Regions from separate parts of the Homo sapiens genome. Here regions 1, 2 and 4 are each linked to region 3. The links are contacts of gene promoters, found by promoter capture Hi-C in blood cells and fetal thymus (Javierre and others, 2016). All regions are on one chromosome and are shown on one strand. Each heading gives the region's core, a stretch centred on a gene start or on the middle of the fragment in contact. The rest is flanking DNA. Distances are from core to core; before and after follow the strand shown. Region 1 overlaps ZCCHC2 (zinc finger CCHC-type containing 2). Region 2 overlaps PIGN (phosphatidylinositol glycan anchor biosynthesis class N). Region 3 holds the start of TNFRSF11A (TNF receptor superfamily member 11a). Region 4 overlaps ZCCHC2 (zinc finger CCHC-type containing 2).

What was found. The method cuts DNA at HindIII sites, captures the fragments that hold promoters and counts their contacts. A CHiCAGO score of 5 or more calls a contact.
Region 1: a contact is called between a fragment that was not itself captured here and the fragment with the promoter of TNFRSF11A in region 3, in 4 of 17 cell types (megakaryocytes, M1 macrophages, naive CD8 T cells and 1 more). The highest score is 7.1, in megakaryocytes.
Region 2: a contact is called between a fragment that was not itself captured here and the fragment with the promoter of TNFRSF11A in region 3, in 1 of 17 cell types (megakaryocytes). The highest score is 5.9, in megakaryocytes.
Region 4: a fragment that was not itself captured here is called in contact with the fragment with the promoter of TNFRSF11A in region 3 in 2 of 17 cell types (megakaryocytes and M1 macrophages); the score reaches 6.2 in megakaryocytes.

What each region holds. Positions count from the first base shown.
Region 1 is chr18:62,564,009-62,566,708 of GRCh38, reverse strand. ZCCHC2 (zinc finger CCHC-type containing 2) reads right to left here. Exons shown (of 14, transcript NM_017742.6): 10 at 2,074-2,138; 11 at 1,613-1,707. Among named protein-coding and RNA genes, the nearest start is that of ZCCHC2, 42 kb to the right of the region's middle. The HindIII fragment of the contact is 4,373 bases long and covers 1-2,700 here.
Region 2 is chr18:62,178,936-62,181,635 of GRCh38, reverse strand. All of the region lies in intron 1 of PIGN (phosphatidylinositol glycan anchor biosynthesis class N), which reads left to right. Among named protein-coding and RNA genes, the nearest start is that of PIGN, 6.8 kb to the left of the region's middle. The HindIII fragment of the contact is 576 bases long and covers 1,161-1,736 here.
Region 3 is chr18:62,324,021-62,326,738 of GRCh38, reverse strand. It overlaps TNFRSF11A (TNF receptor superfamily member 11a), which reads right to left and starts at 1,429. Exons shown (of 10, transcript NM_003839.4): 1 at 1,312-1,429. The coding sequence starts at 1,386. RefSeq lists silencers at 1,338-1,537, 1,588-1,797. The HindIII fragment of the contact is 5,361 bases long and covers 1-2,507 here.
Region 4 is chr18:62,534,119-62,536,818 of GRCh38, reverse strand. All of the region lies in intron 1 of ZCCHC2 (zinc finger CCHC-type containing 2), which reads right to left. Among named protein-coding and RNA genes, the nearest start is that of ZCCHC2, 12 kb to the right of the region's middle. The HindIII fragment of the contact is 864 bases long and covers 997-1,860 here.

The DNA of each region.
Region 1 (2,700 bases), core at 55-2,554, 240 kb before region 3:
ACTGTCTCTGACCAACGTCCACGTGCTTCTCCTCTGGAAATGGGCTAACATCGAAAAAACAGTTGCAAACTTCTTTAGTGAGCAGTAGTTCCCAAACACTGTGAGACAAGAGACAGAGTGAGCTTGTGGAGGGCAGGAATTTCATTCAGAAAATGGTATTTTAGAAAACAAACACGGCAGCAGTATGGAAAATGAACTAGAAAGAGAAGGAACAGAGACAGGGAGGGCCAGCAGCATCAATCTCCAAATGTCCACCGACAGACTTCTGTCTTCCTCATTTAGCTTGTTCCTCCTCCGTTAAGCTGCCATCGCCACCAGAGGGAACCTCAGAGATAGTAAGTGTTACAAGATCCTTCTACAGACAAGATGGGTTTTGTCCATGTTATTTTACTCCCACTTCCAATGCTTCAATGAGTTGGCCAGATGATTTTAGTTTTTTAATTTATTATTTATTTATTTATTTGAGATGGAGTTTCACTCTTGTTGCCCAGGCTGGAGTGCAATGGCGCAGTCGTGGCTCATTGCAACCTCTGCCTCCCGGGTTCAAGCGACTCTCCTGCCTTAGCCTCCCGAGTAGCTGAGATTACAGGCATGTGCCACCACGCCTGGCTAATTTTCGTATTTTTAGTAGAGACAGGTTTTCATCATGTTGGTCAGGCTGGTCTCGAGCTCCTGACCTCAGGTGATCCACTCACCTTGGCCTCTCAAAGTGCTGGGATTACAGGTGTGAGTCACCGTGTCTGGCCCAGATTATTTCAGATTCAAAAGGTAACTATTTTTTTTCTTCATCACTATTCAGTCTTTCTATACAAATATCTAGTTGAAAAATATACTCAAAACTTTTAAGAAATAGATTCTGGTTATTCATATTACATCACAACTGAATGTACTAATATTAGAATAACATTTAAATTAACAATCACATTTGTGGGATCACTACATAAATGTGTCAGGGGCACCCAGGGATAAAATATTCTCCTAGAGGTCTGCGTGCTCTTATTCTTTTTTAATCGTTACAATTAATAGTGAAGATAAACAAAATCAATGAAGCTGCAGAAGGGCACTTTCTCAAGTCAAATGAACCTTGAACCTAAAAATAAAGGGACCTTAAAATAGTGGTGGGTAAATGGAAGCCATCTAGTATAACAAAAATTTGAGGGTTGACATTCCCCTAAAGCCTCATAAAACTTCGCAAAGGATGGTTATTAAATCATGAAGAAGTCAACAGTATTCTAAAAAATACTTTACACAAAAACACTCTCATGAGCGGCCGGCAAAGCCACAGGAGAGATCTCCCATGGCCTTGGGACCTGTCTCCTGAGTTGGAACTGGCTGGAGAAGAACAACCTGGGAGACTCCTGCTGCCAGAAGGGAGAGGCAGGTGAGAATCACTGAGGCAAAGGCAATCTCCACCCCCATGGCTGGTTTGTATTCCCTAAATTAACTCCATTGATTTCAGAACTGTTTAATTTGGAAATTGCTGTACATATCAACACAAGGTAAACTTATAGTATTAGGATTTGACACAACAGCTCAGTATCTATTAATACAGTAAGTATCATGCTGAATATATTTATGTGATGGGTATTTGAAAGAAAAATAACCTTCTTACCTTTCACAGTACCACCATGGGCATGCTGAGGAGTGGAGAGTCTAATACCATTTATTCTACTATTCAATCTGTTGTCAGTTTTCTTAATTTTCTCCCTAAACCAAATGAACATATTGCCAACATTTTAATAAGGTTATCTACCAAACACATTCAGTACAGTATTGATAAAATTTCCTTCAAGACTCTTCAAATTTTTTTAGTAAGGAATAATCTAAATACAATTAAGATTCGCCCTTCCGTGGAAAGTTCTGAGAGTTTTACCCCTCCAAACTGAATGCAATATTTGACAGTAGCTTTATTTTTATCACCTGCATATATTAATATTTTGAACCAAAAGAGTAAAACCCAGAATTAAAAATATAAAGAAAACTAACTAAAAAAATACTATGTTGTATACTATCATAAACTAAACAGGCCTATTATCAAAGGCTATATGCTGTCTTTCCTTAAATTGAACCTACTTTTCTGTTTGTGGCTTTCCTTTCTTCTTATTTATTGAAGATAAACTCCGTTTTTCAGCAGAATGCTAGTAGAAAGAATAAAAAGACAAATCAGACAAAAGCTAAACCATTTTGACGTTTTTACTCTCATAATAAACATTAAAATGATAGATTCCCAGTTGTATATTCTAACAAGTGTTGATTTCCAACCTATTTTTGAAGTTTCCCACCTGAACCACTAAAATTTACATATTCTGTGACACTTACATATTTTCCTCATGATTAATACAGTATTATTTTCTATTTTTCTTTGAAAATGGACCTACATTCTTTTTTCTGACTATAAAATGAAACACAATCAAGTGACTGGCACTTGCTGTAGGTTTACTACTATTCTCTTCAAGTACAATTCCATATAACTGTCAACACTTAACTACGTCAACTCTAAGAAGAGAGGGTGCAGGCACTGGAGTAGGGGAGGGAAAGTAAACTCAGACGGGCTTTGAAAATAGGTCACTAATTATGACTAAAACTATTTATAATTTCTCAGAATATGCTTTAATGCATAAAAACACATTCCAAGAAGAGTTAACATTTGGATCTGAGCGTTGGCCAGGGACAACATCGGGTTAATGAATCAATTTTCTA
Region 2 (2,700 bases), core at 199-2,698, 150 kb after region 3:
GTTCAAGACCAGCCTGGGCAACATGGCAAGACCCCCGCTCTACAAAAAATACAAAAATTAGCTGAATGTGGTAAACATGCACCTGTGGTCCCCGCTACTTGGGAAGCTGAGGTGGGAGGATGACTTAGCCCAGGAAGCTTAGGTTGCTTAGAAAATGAAGACTAAAAAATAGCTATTAGATTTTGCACTGTTAACTGTCTTTACTTTCTTATGAAGTAATGACAATAAGGTTTAAGTTGTTTGAGATTTAGGTGGTCAGGAAAAAAAAGAGGTCACATTCAGCCTTTTCAAGAAGTTTGACTGTGTTGGGGAGAAAAGGGCAATAGATGTTTAAAATTTTTTTTATTAATACTGATATTTATGAGATGTATCCTTTTCAGAAATATGGTATTTCATTATGAATAAACAATTTATCTGTTCCCTATGGTTAGATATTGTTTCCAATTTTTTATTATTACAAATAGCAAAAGCCAAGATTTGAATGTAAAGGTTTAAAACCTTTTTCTTTCTGATGTGTAATTTTATCATAGTAAATTCTACACTAGTAGCAGTACTAATACTTGTGAGCTGGTTAAAAACATAAGCTGATGTCTACCTCACACCATATACAAATAATTATTTTTGTTTCAGAGGACACAAACCAACACAAATAAATTTTAAATAATGAAAGGTAAAAAACAAAAATCTAAAACTATTAGAAGAATATATGTGACATAAGAACCAGGAAAGTTTTCTTCTATAGTACAAGACACAAAAAACTCACACCAGAAAGGATAAATGTTTGACAAATTTTACTGTATTAAAGTTGAAAAATTTATTTTAACAAAAGGCCCTATGAACAACATTTATATATAAATGTGTATATCTAGCTATGTATAAACATACACACACTATATAAACATACACACACATATAATTGTAATGTACAAGTCAAATAAAAGGTCAATAACCCTAATCCTATCTGATCAAAGGATATGAATAGGCAGTTGAAAGGAAGAGAGACCCAATTGGCCAATAAAAACATGAAAAAATTTTCATACTCACTAGTAATCAGGCAAATACATATTCAAATAACAGGATGCCAATTTGGCCTGTTCAAATTGTCTTAAGGTAAATATGACAGTATCAAGCAATTAGGGGGATTTAGAGATATAGAAGCTTTCGTACATTGCTGGAGAGTATGTAAATTAGTATGGACACTTTGCCAGTCACTTGTAAAGTTGAAAATTTTGTTTATTAGAGCAATTCCACTTATAGAGGTGGCTTTCAATCTTATTGGTCCATAGAATAATTTAAAATAAAACTTTCAGTACAGGTTATGTACATGCAAGAATATTGATGCGTGGATACACAGGAAAAAAACACACTTTTTCAAAATAATCATGTACTACTTCTGAAGTACTTTGTGATGTGATATATTCTATATTTTATCCAATCCTATTGTACTGTATTCTATTTCATTTTTTAAAAAAAGGAAAGAAGGCTAATTGCAGTCCATGAAATTATTTTGTTATGGGTCACTACTCTACAGTTTGTAAAAATTCTAAAAATCTCCACCTTTACCATAAGAGAGCAGCTTAATTGCCATATTATTTGTAATCATGACAACTGCGAGTGATGTTGATCAGCAGGATAGTGTTCAATTAAATTGTAATAGAGTCATATAATAGAATATAGGTCTTGAATGTTTGAGATCATTTATAAGGCTTTTTTGGTAGTACTGATTAGAATAAGCTTATAAAAGAAATAATGGCTTTGCATCTATACTGGTAAAAATTAATTTCAAGTAAGGTGGGGAAAGCAGGAGTGGAAATGATGATGATTATAATATTAATGTAATCTTGTAGAATGACAGATGGCTTTTATTTATGTATGTATTTATTTATTTTGAGACAGGGTCTCACTTTGTCACCCAGGCTGGAGTGCAGTGGCGTGATCTCAGCTCACTGGCAGCCTCGATCTCCGGGGTTCAAGCAATCCTCCTGCCTCAGCCCCACAAGTAGCTGGGACTACAGGCATGTGCCACCATGCCTGACTAATTTTTTTGCATTTTTTGTAGAGATGGGGTTTCACCACATTGCCCAGGCTGGTCTCAAACTCCTGAGCTCAAGTGATCCACCTGCCTTGGCCTCATAAAGTGCTAGGATTACAGGTGTGAGCCATCAGGCCTGACCGACAGATGGCTTTTAATTACACAATTGACTGGGTTTAACATATATACTCTTCATACAGAAGAACATCAATTTATGTAGGTGCCTCGTCATCTCAGGAGGTGGAGTGTAACTCCTCACTCTTTAAGTGTTGGCTGCACGTAGTGACTTCCTACCAAAAACTATAGTATGAAATGGGGGAACATTTACATGGAGAAACTTTACAGTGAACTTTACAGAGGACAAACTGAACAAACCGCCTCAGCCAAGTGGTCAAGTTTTATATTAACAGTTTAGTAAGTCATGTTGACAGTACCCTTAATGTGATGTGAAGAAAATGGTACTTTATGTATGTATGTTTCCTCTCCTGAACCCATAACCCCAGACTTACCATGAGAAAAACATCAGATAAATCCCAATAGCAAGACATTATACAAAATCTCTGACCAGTACTCCTCAAAACTCACAAGGTCATCAAAACAAGCAAAGTCTGAGAAATTATCACAGCCAAGAGAAGCCTAAGGAGATATGGTGACTAGCTGCCCTGTGG
Region 3 (2,718 bases), core at 180-2,679:
TTGTTGAAAGGTCTCCCTGAAAAATAAACTTATTTTGATAGCATTTGTTGTTCATATTAGAACCGAACGCCTTTTATGCACATATGAATATGTCATTTTGCGACAGCAGTGAGAGATAATTTTGCAACTGCGTGGTCAGGCAGGTTTTTCTTAGGTGGCTAGCTGTTCGCTGAAACCCTGGTCCTTTGGTTCAAATAAGGTAGCACCCCGTTCAACCTGTTGAACACTTAATTAAGCAACACCTGAAGTGCTTAAAATGAAAAAATCCTTTAGACTTTTCCGCCTTCGTTTCCCTCAACCATACTGACAGACCCATACAATTGGGAATGAATCTTCCCTAGAATCTTTTGCTTCAGCCTTCAGTGCACCCACATTATTTCTGTCAAGGCTTTTCCCCTCTCTTCTCACCCAAACACGATTCTCCATGCGTCCCTCCCCACGCCTCTCCGGGTTCCGTGCCCGGCTGCGGAGGGACGGCAGCAGCCTAACCTAGTGTTAACAGAGGGGAAATCTGACCCAGCCGAAACCAAGAAAACCACCACTCGCCCTTCCCTGTGAGAGCTTTCAAGTTCGTATCAACGATTTTTAAAGCGTTTGTTGTGCTGGGTGTGCTTCCCTCTGCGGCCCTCCTCCACGAGGCAGAAAGTCCGTGCCTGGCTGCATTCGCTTGCTAACTGTACTGAGAAACCTGTTCCGAGAGGACCGGGAAGCCACTCGGGTCTGCGAGGGTCAAGTCCAGCATCCCCGGGGCGCGCGCGCAGTCTCTCCCCGCCGTGCGGGGCCTCCAGGCGAGCTGGCAGGGGTGTCCCCGAAGGGGCTCAGGGGAGGCAAAGGCAAGCCCGCAGTTCAGGGACGGAGGGAATCATGTCTCTTTCCGGGTGGAAATTTGGGACGGAGGCCACCCGGGAGAAATCGTATCGGGAACGGTTATCTGCCGCAAGTGAGGTGCCCACGGCGCTGTCTCCCGCGGCACCGCCCGGCGCAAGCGCTTAGTAGGTGCTCAAGAAGCATTTGGAGAAAATGACAGCATCAAAGCCTGCGGCTAAGAGGGGCTTTTGGAAGAGCCCGTTTCGGGTGTTGCGGTCCCGCCAACCTGCTCCTTCTGCGCCCCAGTTTCCCTCCGCTTGCCCTTTCCCGCCCTCCGCCGTCCAACTCTGGAAGCGCCTCCCCAGCTTCCCACGGCCTCCGCTCCCCAAAACTCCGGCTCCTCTCGGAAGGCGGAGGAGCCAGGATGCCGCCGGCCCCGGCCCTTCCCGGGGCTCCCGAGGAGGCGTCGGGCCGCGCGGCCCGGCAGGCGCGGGCGCTCCTTACCTGCAGCCGGGCGAGCAGCGCGCAGAGCAGCAGCAGCGCGAACAGCGGGCGGCGCCGCCGGGCGCGCGGGGCCATGGCGCGGGACAGGCTGGCGGGCGCCGCGGCCTCAGCGGCCTCTGTGGCCCAGCGGGCGCGGCTGCCGCGGCCCTGTGTGGTCCCGCCCCCGTGCCCCGCCCCGCACCTGCCCCCGCGCCGCCCTCCTGCGCCCCCCTCCGGCCGGGCCCGGCGGTGCCAGCCAGGTGGTGCCCAAGCTCCCCTGGTTTGCGGTGGGACGCGGGGCCCCGCTCGGGGAGGGGCCCCGGGGGTGTTCGCCGCGCCCGGTGCCTCCTTGGTCCGGTCTCCGCCCCTGGCCCAGGTGCTCGGGCTGCAGACAGGTTGGCGGGAGACCAGCCCTGGGTTGCCCTTCACGGCACTGGCTCCTGCCTTGCCGCACCCCAGGCCTGTGGGCCCCGCCTCCCGGGAAGGAATGGGGGCATCGGGGTGGTCCTGCTCCTGCCCCGCGCGCCCACCCTTCGAGGCCCGGCCTTCCGAAAGTGGATGCGCCACCGTCGAGAATGAACGGGAGGAGGATCCTTCCTGGAGATTTCGTCGACTGCAGTTAAGGCATCAACACAATACACCATCCGCCAATCTTCGTAAAATACTCCTCTTGTTCTTTGCTTCAAAATGTTGGGGCCAGCAGCCACTATCTCTTTTTCTTCTCCTGATCCTCTGCCTCCGCCCCTCACCCGTCCTGCACCCACCAAATTCTAGAAAGGCACCAGGCTCCGCCAGCCTTGAGGCGTCCCCCAGCCCCCATCACCACATTGGCCCTTTCAGACATAAAGTGGCCAGATGTCTGGGGCACAGTGTTACCTAAAAACTGAGGTCCGTTCTTCTGGTGCAGTAAGGCCAAGCCATCCGCACTAAGGTTTGCACTGGGAGAAAAGAGGGCGCTTATCTGCAGAGCTCCAGGCAAGGAGAATGGGGCAGCTCTTGCTTAAATCCTGACCTTCAGTTGGCTTGCAAGTAAGGATTTTTAAACGCAGGGTTAATTTCAAGAAAGCAGAAGTTACAGGCAAAATCATAATACACGGAGGTTGCACATTGGTTTGGTCTAACAAGCTGGGATATCTTGAAAATCTTTAAAGTGAGGGTGCTTATAGGTTATACATTCAAAGATTTTCTGACTTGCCATCAGTGAAGGAAGAGAAGCTTTGTTAAAAATTTGGGGTCAGCAAAAATGAATGTTAGCTCTGGCTCGTGGGTGTGACTTCCTCCTTGCCCTTCAGGAAGAAATTTAGAAGAAAGAATGGTGGTCAGTTCCGTCCTCATTTCCCCCTTGTCTGAGGTCTGCATGCCAGTGGATCTGTTTTGTTGGGGGTCTGGGTTTCTGAGAAACAATTCAGGGACATATGTTAAGATGTT
Region 4 (2,700 bases), core at 179-2,678, 210 kb before region 3:
AAATGAAGTTTGAGTTTCTATCCAAAGTCCTAAGTTCATCAACCCATGATATATCTACTAATTAAATGTTTATTTTCTCCTCCAAGTCTCAGCATGTATCAATGCTATAAAATCACGTAGACTATGTTTAGAAGCTATTACTAAACTCACTCATGTAACGCTGCATGAGCTGGAGATGAGAATCGGCAGCCCCAATGGTGGGTGGCTGCTCGGCGATGCTGTCTGCCCTGCACTCCCTCTTTACTTTCCTTAGGGGGATGGGTAGCATAAAATCTGAGAACTCCTTCTTTAATGGAATCATATAAAGAGGAATGGCACCCACTTTATCTGTTAAGTTCAGATTCCCATGAAAATGCAGAACAGATGAAATGCCAGAATCAGTATTTTACAAAGACTAGTTGGAGAAAAGTGTCAGGACCACGAGAAAAGTGGATTTTTCTCTGTTTGTATCAAGAAAGCAGGGTTTAAAGATTCTAAACCTGCAAAAATACGCACAAGCATACAAAGAACTTTAGTAGGAGTGCATTCTCCTTTCTTAACTCGCCTGAGGCAGAGCTTCTTCTGTCCTATCGCTTGCCTCAAGAGCTACTGGTTAGCACAAACCTACACGGCATGTGGTTCAGGTGGTCTAGATGGTTTTGCCACAGATCACACGTAGACCCATCACAATTACATACTTGAGATTTCTTAACTGTGGGGACCTTGTGAAACAGCCAAGTAGCTGGACATCCTAAAAAACTCTTCTCTGAAAACATACCATTAGAACAAAGGTCATAGATGGAGTTTTAGTTCGTCTAACAATATTCTACATGGTTCTTGTAGTCCCTCGATATAGACTATAAATTTAAAAATCCAAGATATTCCAAATATAATAACACAGCAGTAAGAGTTTTTTATTTTTTAAAACCAAAGTCACTAACTTCTTCTGAAGTTTTCCCAATTGTCAAATGAGACTTAGAAAATTAACAGCAATATATAACAACATTCTATTAAGCTTCCGTGGCGGATTAAAGGTAGCTAAAAATTATTTAATATTCCTCCCGCTGAAAAGTGGAACCAATTCCCCACCCAGTGGATCTAGGCTGGCTTTAGAATGTGCTGGTGGTGATGCTCTTCTAAAGTTAGGTCCTGGGAAGCCTCAGCCCTGGGCCTCCTGGACACTTGGGCTTGGAGTCCTGAGACACCACATGAGACATGCACTTCTCCTGGCAGCCGCACTTGATGGACCACGTGGAGAGAGGAGAGGGGTCTAGGGATGCCATCTGGGCCCCAGCTGTGTCCCAGACACCCTAGAACAGAGACAAACTCTTCACTATAGTTATTTGTCTAAATCCCTCACCCACAAAACTGTGAGAGATGGTAATAAAATGGTCATTGTTTTACACCACTAAGTTTGGGGGTAATTCTGTTCTTTAAATAGGCAGATTCATAGGTCTCCTCCTTCAGCACTGGCATCTGTGCTTCCTTTGCCAACATGCTCTCACTACAGAAGGAAAACATCTTTTAACCCTAGAACTAGGAAGATGATCCAGAAATTGCTATATCCCTGGGCCAGCAGCCCCCACATCTTTAAGTCCCCACATCAGGGTGTTCTGGGGTGAGGTGAAAAGAATGCATGCATGAGTGCACAAGGATCTAGAGAAGCGCACATCTCCTCCCCAGCCCACATCTGACTCTGCCTTCGCTGTCGCAGTCTCGCCCCACGAGAGATGAGGGAGGGAGGCCAAGGGGTCGTCAGGAAGGATGTGAGCCTGGGCTCAGAAGCTGGAAGGAGCTTCCATGCCTTCTAGCACCTGCAGCAGAGCCACTGCTTCACCCCCAGTGCAAAAACATTCTTGGAACCTTGTAGAAACATAAGCTTATAGAACCTAAGAAGGATCTACGGCAGTAACTGATTTACTATATAGTGTTGCCAACACTGCATTAGGACTTGTGTTTCACACCACTAGTTATTATAGAATGGGCAATTTTCCCAAACTAATAAAACTACTCAATACTCAATGCCACAACCTCTCTGTATGAGGGATGACCTCTTTTCAAGCAAATACTCCCAAACATTACAGCATTTGGTTCACATGTGACCATGCCGTCTCCCATTTAGGACCACCAGTGAATTTCAATCATTTGATACCCAAGACAAAAATCAACTGTACTACGGGACACATCCCAATTTAGACATTTCTAACAAGAAACATAAAAATTCCCCAACATTTATGTTATAGAGCGTTCACTTCAGTGACCAAAGTTTAATTATCTTTCCAATCACACAAGGCACTACCCCAATTCTACATCTGACTCACACCACCCCTCAAGTAGATCATAAACTGGAGATCAAACACTACAGGCTACCTACCATCAACTATCCAAGCAATAAGAAAATAGGTTAATATATGACTTTTCCATCCTATCAAAATGTCACTGCTAGGTCTGCACCAATTTATGCACCCACACACAAAAGCTCAATTAACACAGGGAGTACAAATAATCAGATTTTTTTTTTTTTTTTTAAGACAGGATCTCCCTCTGTCTCCCAGGCTGGATTGCACAGCAACGCAATCACGGCTCACTTCAGCCTTGACCTCTCTGCTCAAGCAATCTTCCCACCTCCGTCTCTTGAGTAGCTAGGACTACAGGCATGTACCACCATGCCAGGCTAATTTTTTTTAGAGATGGGGTCTTGGTATGTTGCCTAGGCTGCTA